Regions from separate parts of the Homo sapiens genome. Here all the other regions are linked to region 2. Evidence: promoter capture Hi-C in 16 types of primary human blood cells and fetal thymus (Javierre and others, 2016). All regions are on one chromosome and are shown on one strand. The core of a region is centred on a gene start or on the middle of the fragment in contact, and the rest is flanking DNA. Distances in the headings are between cores, read along the strand shown. Region 1 overlaps BAG3 (BAG cochaperone 3). Region 2 holds the start of SEC23IP (SEC23 interacting protein). Region 3 overlaps INPP5F (inositol polyphosphate-5-phosphatase F).

Region 1 (3,914 bases), core at 138-2,637, 240 kb after region 2:
CCAGACCTGTAAGGATGAACTTAGGGAATCAATACTGAAGTCCTTTGTGCAGAGAAGGCCATTCACAAAGTGACAAAAAGGAGCAGGCCTCTGGGGACCTTTAGGAGCCCAGGACAACTCTGCAGTTCTTAGGAACCAATGGAAGGCTTCCCGGGACACACCTGCATCCTTCACGGGCAGCTCTTCTGTATCTGCCTTCGCGCTCTGGGCAGGCCCATGTTCTACCCTTCTCCACAGTCACTCGTTCCATCTTTTCTGAGCCTGTGGACCCTGCCAGGCATCAAGAGGCAGCGATGAAGCACACAGACTCTGCCCCAGAACTCCTAACAGGGGTGTGACCCCAAGACAAAGCAGAAAAGTGCAGAGCTTAAGCAAAAAGATTCAAATTAAAATAATATGGGTTCCAGAAGAGAGACAGCCTGCTTCGGACCAGGGAGAGGCAGGACATGCTTTGTGGAGAACAGTCTCAAAGTGGGCAGACTTGTCCTCTATATGGCATTTAACACTGTGACTCGCACACTGTGGGCACTCAGTGAATTTCAGATGGGGTAAAGGAGTGAGTAAAGAGTCGGGCCCATCTCCTAAATCCAGACCCAGGTTCAAGAAACAGGCCAACATTTCTGATTAACTATACAAAGATGGACTCAGGGCTGTTTATCACCTCAAGCTGTGCCTGGGGAGTATAAAGCAGCCGTGCCTGGGGAGTATAAAGCAGCCAGGCCCGCTAAAGGCAAGTCTGTCTGTCACCCCTTCAGGAACTCAGATGGGGGTAAAGCCACAGAAGTCTTTCTGTTTATCACAGGCCAGGCACACTGCCTCTCCAAATCTGCTGTCCCATGTGTAAGACACTTCATAGTTTCTAGTTCAAAGAGCTGGTGAGGATTTAGAGATAAGGTTACCAAAAGCACCCACTCATATCTGGCACATATATATATATATGTGTGTGTGTTGACAGACAGAAAAATACTACATTCATTCCTCTCCCCCCAAATTCTTCCTAAGCTTTTGCAAGCTGCCTGGCTTCCTAAAAGGCTGCCAAGGTCCCAAAGATACCTTCATCGAAATACGTGACGACTTAGTAACACCAGATACCTCACATGGTATCACATGTGCCACATGATGCATACAGATGAATCCTGCACCTGCAAAACAAGGGGCTCTGGAGCCTGCCTCAGACGGCCGGCTGATGGGCATGGTGGCGCTCACCTATAATCCTAGCTACTTGGGAGGCTGAGGCAGGAGAATCGCTTGAACCCAGGAGACGGAGGTTGCAGTGAGCCAAGATCGCACTACGGCACCCCAGCCTGGGAGACAAAGTGCGACTCCGTCTCAAAAAAAAAAAAAAAAAAAAGAAGGCCAGCTGAGTCTATGCTCTGAGGCAGAAGCAGATCAGAGGTGTCTACTTGACTCACAACAAAAGGGAACCCAGGAGGGGCTGGAGAATAACACGGTCAAGTGTGACACAGGGTTCACTCGTGTTCGCCAGTGCCAGAGGGTCTCAAAGATCCTAATAAGCAAGGCCTTTGTCTTCAGTTTCTTCTGTAAGCTCTCTTAAACATTTAAGAGCAATATTAAAACAGCAAAACTTAAAGGAGAAAGAGTAGGTCTGGATGATGAATGGTTTTCTACTTTGGATGATAAACATCAGAACATCATTTTTAAATGTCAATAGAAAGTAATAAACATGTAGAGTGGTTTATATAAGGTGACTGTGTGTCATTCCAGAAACGAGGACAGCACTAAGCAAGCCTCATGGGTGGTATGAAGCTTTCTGACTCACAAGCAGCCCTGATAGCATCCAACAGTTAAGCCTTCCCAGCCCTGGCCAACGTCAAACGCTGCCGCAGGTCCTGTGTACAGGCTCCACCCTCATAAAGGGCAAATCTACCCTACAAAACGGGACAAATGATGTTCTCGGAGGTGCAGTCGGTTCTCATGTGAACAACACAGGCTGTTCTTCAGAGGGGAAAATGAAAGTCCTGGATGAGCTGGGCTCCAAGGCATCTGGCCATGCTGTTCATCTGCCCCCCAACAAATCACTTTCATGCAGTCGCACAGGAACTTGCTCAGCCACAACTGCAACTTGCTGGAAATACGAAGGAGAGAACGGCCACTCATTTCCTGATTGTGCTCCGCCTCTGCTAAGAGGCATAACAGCTTGCAATAGATCTGGAAAGAGCAAAACGATCTCATCTTTAAGAAAATTCAGGAGGCTCTGCTGAACCTTAAGCAAAATAAATGGGTCTCTCTACTTCAATCATAACTCGAAACATTTCCAGTGTTATCTGAAAGGATGTTTCTATCTCCCTGTCACAGTGCCTGAGTATAATCTGTTAAATGATTATGGTGAGATTCTGCCAGATGGGCAAGACAAAAAGAAAAGGCTCTGGCTTGCTTCTTCCTGGGGTCCAGGAAGATCTCTGGACCACCTCCCCACTCTCGCACTGCCAGCCACCCTGCCAGACTTTGCAAGGTGCTGTCTCGGCTCGCTTCCCATGTCATCCCCATATTCACACCTCCAGAAGCCCGCGTACCTGGGGAGTTTCCCCAAGAAGGAAAATGGAGGCTTGGGAAAATGCTCTGCAGGATAGATGTTCAGGAGGCACTAAGCCGCAGCTCCTCCTCCCCAAAATGGGATCACTGGCCATCCGTGGCTCCCACTGCCAGTGCAGCAGAATCAGAACCACCAAAAAAGCTTTCTGGACTTAATAGTTTTCTGGGCCCTACACTGAGCAATTCAGATTTGAACATGGGGTTGGGGCAGGGAGGCGATGAGACACAGCCACAATCTGTGTTCTTAACAGGACTCCCTGGAGAGTGCCAGACTGGTAACCCCCAAGATCCATGGAGCTAGAGCGGCCCTGCTCCATGAGGGAGGAAGGTCTCCCTCTCATCCCAAGGAGGCCTGGCGGGAACAGCACTCCAGAACATCCGGCCTCTGTTTATTCAGGGAGGAGCCTGGAGGAGTGGCTGCACCAGCACTGAATGCCATCCTCTGCCAGGAAAGGGCCTGGACTGGTATGAACTTGCCAAATTAGTGGGAAGCCCAAGTGTGCAGAAAATCAAAATCCAGGAAGACTGCAGGTGGGGAGGCCCAGCTGCTTAGAATGGGGCTGGATGAAGCCCAGCATCTTTGCCGGGAGCCGTCCTGCTTCAGCAATGACAGAAGATACTTGCTTTCGCTCTGCCCCTCTGTGAAAACAGGGAGTTGTCCTAACTACTTCAGGAGAAGGCGGAAGATCAACTGCAAGACGGCAGTAGAAGACGAAATAAAATACAAAGGTCTAGTCTTTTCTTTCCATTTTCTTACTAACGTGATTAAATTTTAAACATCCTGAAGCTGAGTCCTCCCCCAAAAGAGAGGTCGTCTCTTGAGCTCCTCATGCTCAATGAACAGCTTTTTACTGATTGACAGCATTTCCTCTTGAAGATGATGATGCTCAGACGGGCCTCAGCTCAGCTCCTCCAAAATCGCCCTTTGTTTTCTGCAAGGGCCTTTTTCTCATTATGCATTGAGAAGCCAATTTCAAATACAAAATGATATTCAAGGATTTTCCACTACATTTAGTCTCCAGTAAGGTGTAACTCACACAAGTGCAACCTGATATTGTGTGTGTCAAAGCACAGGATTGAAAGCAATGAAGCACAAACAGCTCATGGGCTGAATGTTAGTTTTCTCCTTAAGTTTTGGTGCCATGCTGACAAGTCTCAAGTCATTCACTTGGTAAAGGGAACTCTTTTCTTGAGTTCATCAGTCCCATCATCAAAATCCAAGCAACCTCAGCACAGAGGTCAGTGACCCAATAACTTGGTGGCCAGGAGGGCACAAAAATAATCAAGTATTCTAGCCTGCATGCCTCAGTTTCCCAAAACACTCACTTCCAACTTCTGAAGAGACACACTGCCTCTTATTA
Region 2 (3,977 bases), core at 240-2,739:
CTGAAGAAGACTGCAGTCCAAATGGAGAGGCAGGTGTGTTTATTTCACAAACATTAAATCACACTGTCTGGCACGCACTATACTTAGCGCTTTGCAAAAATTAAAGCATTTCTAATTACAATTCTGTGAGGCTACACATACATAGAAACTGAAGCACAGAGAGGTAAAGTAAAATGCCTACAGTCACACAGCAAGTTACTGGCAGGGCAAGGACTGGAATACAGACAGTCTGTGCTCTTAAACACTATGCTCTGGGCAATGCTACATAATCATCAAAAAGCAATCTCCCTGGACAATAATACAAATATGAAAAAAGAGCTAGGAGTGCACATAGGAGTGGGGGCCTAAGAGAACAAGAAACAGCTTCTTGGAAGAAGTGATGTATTGTCTTGAAAGATGAGGAATGGGTGGGGGGTTAAACCTGTAATCCCAGCACTTTGGGAGGCCAGGGCAGGCGGATCACTTGAGGTCAGGAGATTGAGACCATCCTGGCCAACATGGTGGAACCCTGTCTCTACTACAAATACAAAAATTAGCCAGGCATGGTGGCAGACGCCTGTAGTCCCAGCTACTCGGGAGGCTGAGGCAGGAGAATCACTTGAACCTGGAAGGTGGAGGCTGCAGTGAGCCGAGATCGCGCCACTGCATTCCAGCCTGGGCGACAGAGCAAGACTCCGTCTCAAAAAAAAAAAAAAAAAAAAAAAGATAAGGAATGCATTGTATATGTCTACTTCACAAATATTACAGGCTTCTAGAAGAGGGGCACAGTCCATCTTATAAGATATCTTACTGTAACCTAGAAGATATTGTACTGTATCACAACAATCTCCTAGTAGGAGACAGTGTACCGTATCCTAGGAGAGGGGCACAGTCCATCCTAGGAGGTATCTTACCGTATCCTAGGAGTCTCCTAGTGGGAGACAGACTACTGTACCCTAGGAGAGGGCCACTGTTTAATTTATTTGCATTTCCTGCCAGCACCTGGCGTACCAACAACGGGTATTCAGCAAAGATTTGCGGAATGCCAGGGTACGAATGAATGTCCAGCACTCTGGACAACTCGGAACAGGGGGTTTCCGTGAAGAGCAAGTCTCATCACCTGCCACCTCCAAGATCCCAAAGCCCCCGACCCACTCAAACCTGGCCAGTAATGATCCTGGCAAGCTATCCAGAGGGTAGCTCGAGGCAGAAGGAAAAACTCCCGTCTGACCTTTGTCATTGCACGTCCCCCGCCCGCCTCCCACCACACACGGGGCCGCCCTCCCCTTATTACCTCCCGGTAAGAGCAGGGAGGCCGGAGAAGCGGAGGCCTGGGTGACTGGGATGAAGGGCACATTGAAGCTGAACTCCGTGGCCGAGGAGGAGAAAAGTAAGTTAGTGCCCGATGAGGAAGTGGAGGCGCCGCCGCTGCCACCGTTAGGTTTTCTCTCGGCCATGGCTGCGGCCCACCGTCCGATACACGTCTCCGGGTACCCGGTACCACACCACTGACCGGAAACCGATCACGCTCCTGGCCAGCGCACTTCCGCACTTGCGCACAGGAGCCGAAATTACGGGTAGCTAGTCAGCCGCCCTCTCCCTTCCCCTACACGGCGACGCCAGATATCAACATGGCGACACTGTCTTCACGCCCGCGTCTAGCACGTGACACCCTCGGAGGCGGAGGCCGGGCGGGAGGATGGGGACGTGGTCCCCGCAGGTTCTGGATAGACGTGCGAATTGAGACGCAATTGACCCTGAAAGTCACAGGTTGTGGCGGGTATCTATGGGCTTCCTAAAGGTACCGTCAGGATGGCTCTCCTGACAAAGATTTTGGAGGAACAGCGGAATCCTGCTGGACGCTACCGGAAGGAGGAAGGGAGGAAGAGCGTTGTGCGGGAATGGGAATTCGCATGCTAGGCGGAACCAAACACCCTCTCCAAAACCCACTTGTCTTTCTGGATGGAACCGAACATTGTGGTTGACCCAGAAATAGAAGTGGTAAAACATTTTTTAAGTGTTTAATCCATAGGGAGAAAAAAATATTTCGTTTTATTTTTGTTGTTTTTTGTTTTGCATTTGTTTTTTGTTTTTTTGGTTGGTTTTGTTTTTTGTTTTGAGACAAGTCTGCTGTGTCGCCCAGGCTGGAGTGCAGCGGTGCAGTCTGGGCTCATTGCAATCTCCGCCTCCCGGGTTCAAGCGATTCTCCTGCCTCAGCCTCCGAGTAGCTGGGACTACAGGCGTCCGCCACCACGCCTGGCTAATTTTTTGTATTTTTAGTAAAGACGAGGTTTCACCGGGTTGGCCAGGATGGTCTCAATCTCCTGACCTCGTGATCTGCCCGCCTTGGCCTCCCAAACTGCTGGGATTATAGGCATGAACCACCACGCCTGGCCAAAAAAAATATTTAAAAGAGAAATCAAACCAGACGCCATGGCGCAGGCCTGCAATCCCAGCACTTTGTGAGGCAGAGCGGGAGGATAGCTTGAGCCCAGAAGGTTGAGACCAACCTGGCCAACATGGTGAAACCCCGTCTCTACTAAAAATACAAAAATTAGCCGGGCTTGGTGGCATAGCACCTATATTGCCAGCTACTCAGGAGGCTGAGGCGGGAATATTGCTTGAGGCCAAATTAACCCTGATCTTGCCACTCACTGTGCAGCGAGACCCTGTCTCCTTAAAAAAAAAAAAAAGAAAAAAAAAGAAACCAGGGCATTGAAATTAGAGATCTGACATTTTAGATAGCTTTCTATATCCACAGTAAGCTGACTTACTTCAATCCAGGAGGTACTGTGGATAACTTGGACATAATTGTCATCTTTCATAGTTAGAGATTTTGAAGGAAAATATAACTTAAGCCATATTTCAGCTTCTTGGAGGTTGGGAGAGGAGATACCAAAAGAACGCTCAAAATAATGAAACTCTGCTCAGCTGTTTACACATATATAGAACCTAAGTTTATTAATTCAATAACGATTTCATGTGCTTACTGTCAAGAAAAATTTTTTAAGTGGGACACTCGTTAAAGCAGTAAATTAGATTTTATTTAATGAAAACTATTGCTAGGGAATTGGGTCCAGCATGAACTGAACACAACTTTGCTGAAACAAAAATTTGGAGGCTTTTTAGAGGCTGTGGTGTGCTAAGGGAAAGGTGCTGAGGAGTGTGAAGGGTTGGTTCGTCCTGCAACTAGGCCATCTGGGTGTGTTAATCCATGCTTATCCAGAGGAGACATAATTTTTCTGTCTTCATGACAAGCAGTGGTGTAAGAGAGCAAGGTAGCCACAGGGACTGGGAATGAGAATGAGAACCACCTCCTTGAAGGCTTGCAATTCAAGAGACAAACCCCCAGGTCCTTGAGAAGACAGTTCTCAGTGGTCATGTGTCCGGAGTTGGTTCCTTCCGGTGGGTTCTTGGCCTCACTGACTTCAAGAATGAAGCCGCGGACCTTTGTGGTGAGTGTTACAGCTCTTCAAGGTGGCACAGACCCAGAGTGAGCAGCAGCAAGATTTATTGTGAAGAGCGAAAGAACAAAGCTTCCGTAGCGTGGAAGGGGACCTGACTGGGTTGCTGCTGCTGGCTCGGGTGGCCAGCTTTTATTTATTTATTTGTCACTGCCCTCATCCTGCTGCTTGGTCCATTTTACAGAGCGCTGATTGGTCCATTGTAAAGAATGCTGATTGGTGCATTTACAATCCTTTAGCTAGACACAGAGTGTTGATTGGTGCATTTTTACAGAGTGCTGATTGGTGCATTTACAATCTTCTAGCTAGACACAGAGCACTGATTGGTGTGTTTTTACAGAGTGCTGATTGGTGCATTTACAGTCCTTCAGCTAGACACAGAGCACTGATTGGTGCATTTACAATCCTCTAGCTAGACAGAAAAGTTCTCCAAGTCCCTACTCAACCCAGGAAGTCTAGCTGGCTTCACCTCTCAATCCCCCCTCTAAAGAGGACACCCCAAGAGCTGTTGGGAATTGGGCAATGACCTCTGTA
Region 3 (3,888 bases), core at 730-3,229, 150 kb after region 2:
AACAAGCGGGAGCGCTGCCCCCTACCAAGTTGGCGGGGCTCCTGGCACAGCTGCAGCCAGCAGAGGCTCCAGACCTGGGCATTCCTGTACTCTCAGCTACCCGGGAAGACCCTCTTTCCCCACAGGCTCGGAAGTGCCTGCTCCCACTCCCTGGCCTCTCTCCCTGCTCCCAGCACCTGCTCTGGTGCAGAGCAAGTTGTGGCCGAGCCTGGGGACCGTCACGACCGAGTCGGGTGTGCACAGGCTTGGACACTGCTGTCACACCAGCTCCCTGCCGCCTCAGCCCCCTCTGGACTTCGGGTGCCGATAAGCGTGGGAGAGAGGCCAGCAGGGGTGAGGGCAGCTCCAAGTGGGCCTGCAGGCACCCCTCAGCCCAAACAGCCTGGGCAGTGGAGGGAGACAGACACAGGTTCCTGTCCAGAAAGGGGCAGATCACAGGTAAAACCCCACCTTCAAGCCAGGGACAACCTGAAGCCTGGGGTCTGAGCTGCAGGTTCCGGGTGGAGTCCGTGAGCTGGAGTAAGAACTCAGGGTGCTTTCTCCAGGCCGTCCGTGGCCTCCCATGGACCAATCAGCACACACTTCCTCCATTCTGAGCCCATTAAAAATCCCGGACTCAGCCAGACTCACAGATGTCCAGACCACCAGCTGCGGGAGGGAGCTGCCCCCTTCGGGTCTCCTCATTGGATGACCTGCCTGCAAAAAGGAGCTACCCACTTCAGGTCTCCTGAGAGCTCTTCTGGGGCTCAATGAAGCTGCTCTCTGCCTTGCTCCCCCTCCAGTTGTCCACATACCTTGCATACCTCATTCTTCCTGGACACGGGACCCCTGAATGGTGGGACTGAAAAAGCTGTAACACAAACAGGACCAAAACACGCCCCCTGCTCACCAGGTTGTGGGCAACAAGGAGGAAAGGGCTGCGGCCCTTCGGGAACACCAGACCTAGGGGCTCTCCGAGCCAGGGCTGTGACAGTGGGGCTCTGCAGTTCCTGGCATCTCCAAGCTTCCGGGCATCACTGCATTCCCCAGTACCTGCAGCAGAAACTGCTTGTGGTACACCTGGTCCAGCCACAGCCTTGCACAAAGCCAGTGCCTGTACCGGTGCCTGGAGCTGCCTGCCCTGCCACGGCTGGCACACCTGGCTGTGCATAGTGTCTGGACCGTGCACGCTCGCTCATACACCACTCGCCACTCCGCACCTGGCTTGCCATTGGCAGGCATGGGATCCGGGCTGGTAGTGCAAGCCCAGCACAGCTTGCCGAGCCAAGACAGTGGAAAAAGCCCAGTGGACCCGAGGAAAACTCAGGCAAAATCGCCACTGGCCACAGAAGTGTCCAGGTGGAAAAGCAACACCCTAAGGATCCCATGACATTATAGTTTTTTAAGTAATTTTTTCTAACATTTCTAACATAGTTTTTCTAAAATTTCATGAGTATTTTCTTCTTTAAAATATTCTTCAAGATTATAACTTCATGGTGACACAATTTTCCACTTAAGGAAGTACTTCCTCAAAGAAAACATTTAAGTGATTTGAAGTTTTTCCCCCATCATAAAAAACACTGTGATAAATGATGAATATTATGCAAATATTTGCCTCTCTAATTAATAGCTTTTGGATAGATTCCTGGGAATTAAATTAATAGGTTAAAACCTTAAAAATGTAAACTTCTCAAATAATACCAAATTGTTTGCTACAAAGGTTACATACCAAGTTAGATTTCTGCCAGAAGCATATGAATTTCTTTTTTGAATTAAAAAAAATTTTTTTTTAAAGCAAGGCCAGGCACAGTGGCTCATGCCTGTAACCCCAACACTTTGGGAGGCCAAGCTGGGTGGATTGCTTGAGGCCAGGAGTTCAGCCTGGCCAACATGGTAAAACCCCATCTCTACTAAAAATACACAAAAAATTAGCTGGGCGTGGTGGTGCGTGCCTGTAATCCCAGCTTCTTGGGAGGCTGAGGCATGAGAATTGCTTGAACCAGGAGTGGAGGCTGCAGTGAACTGAGATCATACCACTGCACTCCAGCCTGGGGGACAGAGCAAGATTCTGTCTCAAAAAAAAAAAATTAATAATTTTGAGTTAAAAATTTAGAATTTATCTAATTTTGCTAATTTGATGGCATCTGGCATCTATTGCCTAACATGATGTTTATTTCCTTTCTATTGCTGATAAGATTAAACACTTAATTATAAAATTGGCTGCTTATGGCCGGGCATGGTGGCTCATGCCTATAATCCCAGCACTTCGGAAGGCCGAGGCAGGAGGATCACTTGAGGTCAGGAGTTCGAGACCAGCCTGGCCAACATGGAGAAACCCCATCTCTACTAAAAATACAAAAATTAGCTGAACGTGTTGGCACACGCCTATAATCCCAGCTACTTGGGAGGCTGAGGCACAAGAATCGCTTGAATCCGGGAAGTAGAGGTTGCCGTGAGCTGAGATTACATCACTGCACTCAACTGCAGCCTGGGCGACAGAGCAAGACTCTGTCTCAAAAAAAAAAAAAAAAAATTTGGCTGCTTATATGTCATGTCATCTTCTATGATTTTCTTGTTCATGCCTCCTAATTTTTCTTTATATCTTTCATTGACTTACAAGTTCCTTTCACATTAAGGACTTCAACTCTTTGACATGTTTGCAAATATTTTCAGTTTTTAATTTTTATATCTTTTGGCTTACAAAGCTGTTCCTTAGTATCAGTTACCGTATTTACTGATTTCATCTCTGTTAGTTGTTAACTACTTAACCCTAATGCCAGTGGAATAAAGATACCCTGATTTCTTTCCAAATAGTGAGCCAGAATCCCTGTATCAGGCAGACCATGTCTCAACATCTGCCAACACAGATGCCCCTGCTAAGGAAAGAGCTCCAGCTACCCAGAACCCTACCACCTTGACCTTAGATGAACAGACCACAGTTGTAGGACTCTAACCCTTGGGTACCAAATAAGCTTTAGGAATACAGAAAAGGAAGGAAAAAACAGAGTTAAAGCAGTCACGGAGAGTCATGTAGAAGAAGTGGCGCATCAGGCATAAGGACAGCAGCAAGAAAAATAATACAGCAGACAAAAAAGTACAAGATTTGTTCTGGTATGTGTCCCATCATTGGAGAAACACATATCAAGTACTTGCCAGGAACCAGACACTGTATCACGTTAAGATGATACAAAAATAATGAAGCAAACAGTGTAAATAACAGAAGACCAGTAGGTACACTGGAGATATGAATTGATAATGCTAGAAAAGTAAACTAAGGCCAACTGTGGAAAAACTTGAATAAACAGTAATGAGCCTGGTCGGGCACGGTGGCTCACACATGTAATCCCAGCACTTTGGGAGGCCAAGGCGGGCGGATCACAGGTCAGGAGTTCAAGACCAGGCTGACCAACATGGTGAAACCCCATCTCTACTAAAAATACAAAAACTAGCCGGGCATGGTAGCGCATACCTGTAATCCCAGCTACTCAGGAGGCTAAGGCAGGAGAATCGCTTGAACCCAGGAGGTGGAGGTTGCAGTGAGCCGAGATCACGACACTGCACTCCAGCCTGGCTAACAGAGTGAGGCTTCATCTCAAAAAAAAAAAAAAAAAAAAAAAGGAATGAGCCTGAGCTTCCTGGAGACCATGGCAAGCAGATAATAACATAAGTAAAATAAGATTACGGCCAGGGATTACATCACAAGGTTGATGTAACTAAGGAAACCTTACCCAAAAGTTAAATCGTGTTTTCAGTCGTTCAGAAGGTCCATTGTAAGAGATACTTCTACATCAACACCTAGTGAACTCATAGATGTATGTAAGTACCAGAAACAAAAGTTTCATGAAATAGTATTTGAAAAGAGGTGGAGATTGGGAGTAAGAAACCCACTTGGGTTACTGCAAAAGTCTT

What was found. Contacts are between HindIII fragments. The CHiCAGO score rates a contact against its expected background, and 5 or more counts as called.
Region 1: a fragment that was not itself captured here is called in contact with the fragment with the promoter of SEC23IP in region 2 in 1 of 17 cell types (activated CD4 T cells); the score reaches 6.2 in activated CD4 T cells.
Region 3: a contact is called between a fragment that was not itself captured here and the fragment with the promoter of SEC23IP in region 2, in 1 of 17 cell types (neutrophils). The highest score is 5.1, in neutrophils.

Annotation. Positions count from the first base shown.
Region 1 is chr10:119,653,816-119,657,729 of GRCh38, reverse strand. All of the region lies in intron 1 of BAG3 (BAG cochaperone 3), which reads right to left. Among named protein-coding and RNA genes, the nearest start is that of BAG3, 4.4 kb to the right of the region's middle. The HindIII fragment of the contact is 765 bases long and covers 1,005-1,769 here.
Region 2 is chr10:119,890,242-119,894,218 of GRCh38, reverse strand. SEC23IP (SEC23 interacting protein) reads right to left here and starts at 1,489. Exons shown (of 19, transcript NM_007190.4): 1 at 1,274-1,489. The coding sequence starts at 1,436. RefSeq lists enhancers at 1,241-1,751, 1,752-2,262, 2,263-2,774. The HindIII fragment of the contact is 6,362 bases long and covers 1-3,517 here.
Region 3 is chr10:119,745,408-119,749,295 of GRCh38, reverse strand. The region is part of intron 1 of INPP5F (inositol polyphosphate-5-phosphatase F); the gene reads right to left. Among named protein-coding and RNA genes, the nearest start is that of INPP5F, 21 kb to the right of the region's middle. RefSeq lists a silencer at 945-1,239. The HindIII fragment of the contact is 1,948 bases long and covers 1,006-2,953 here.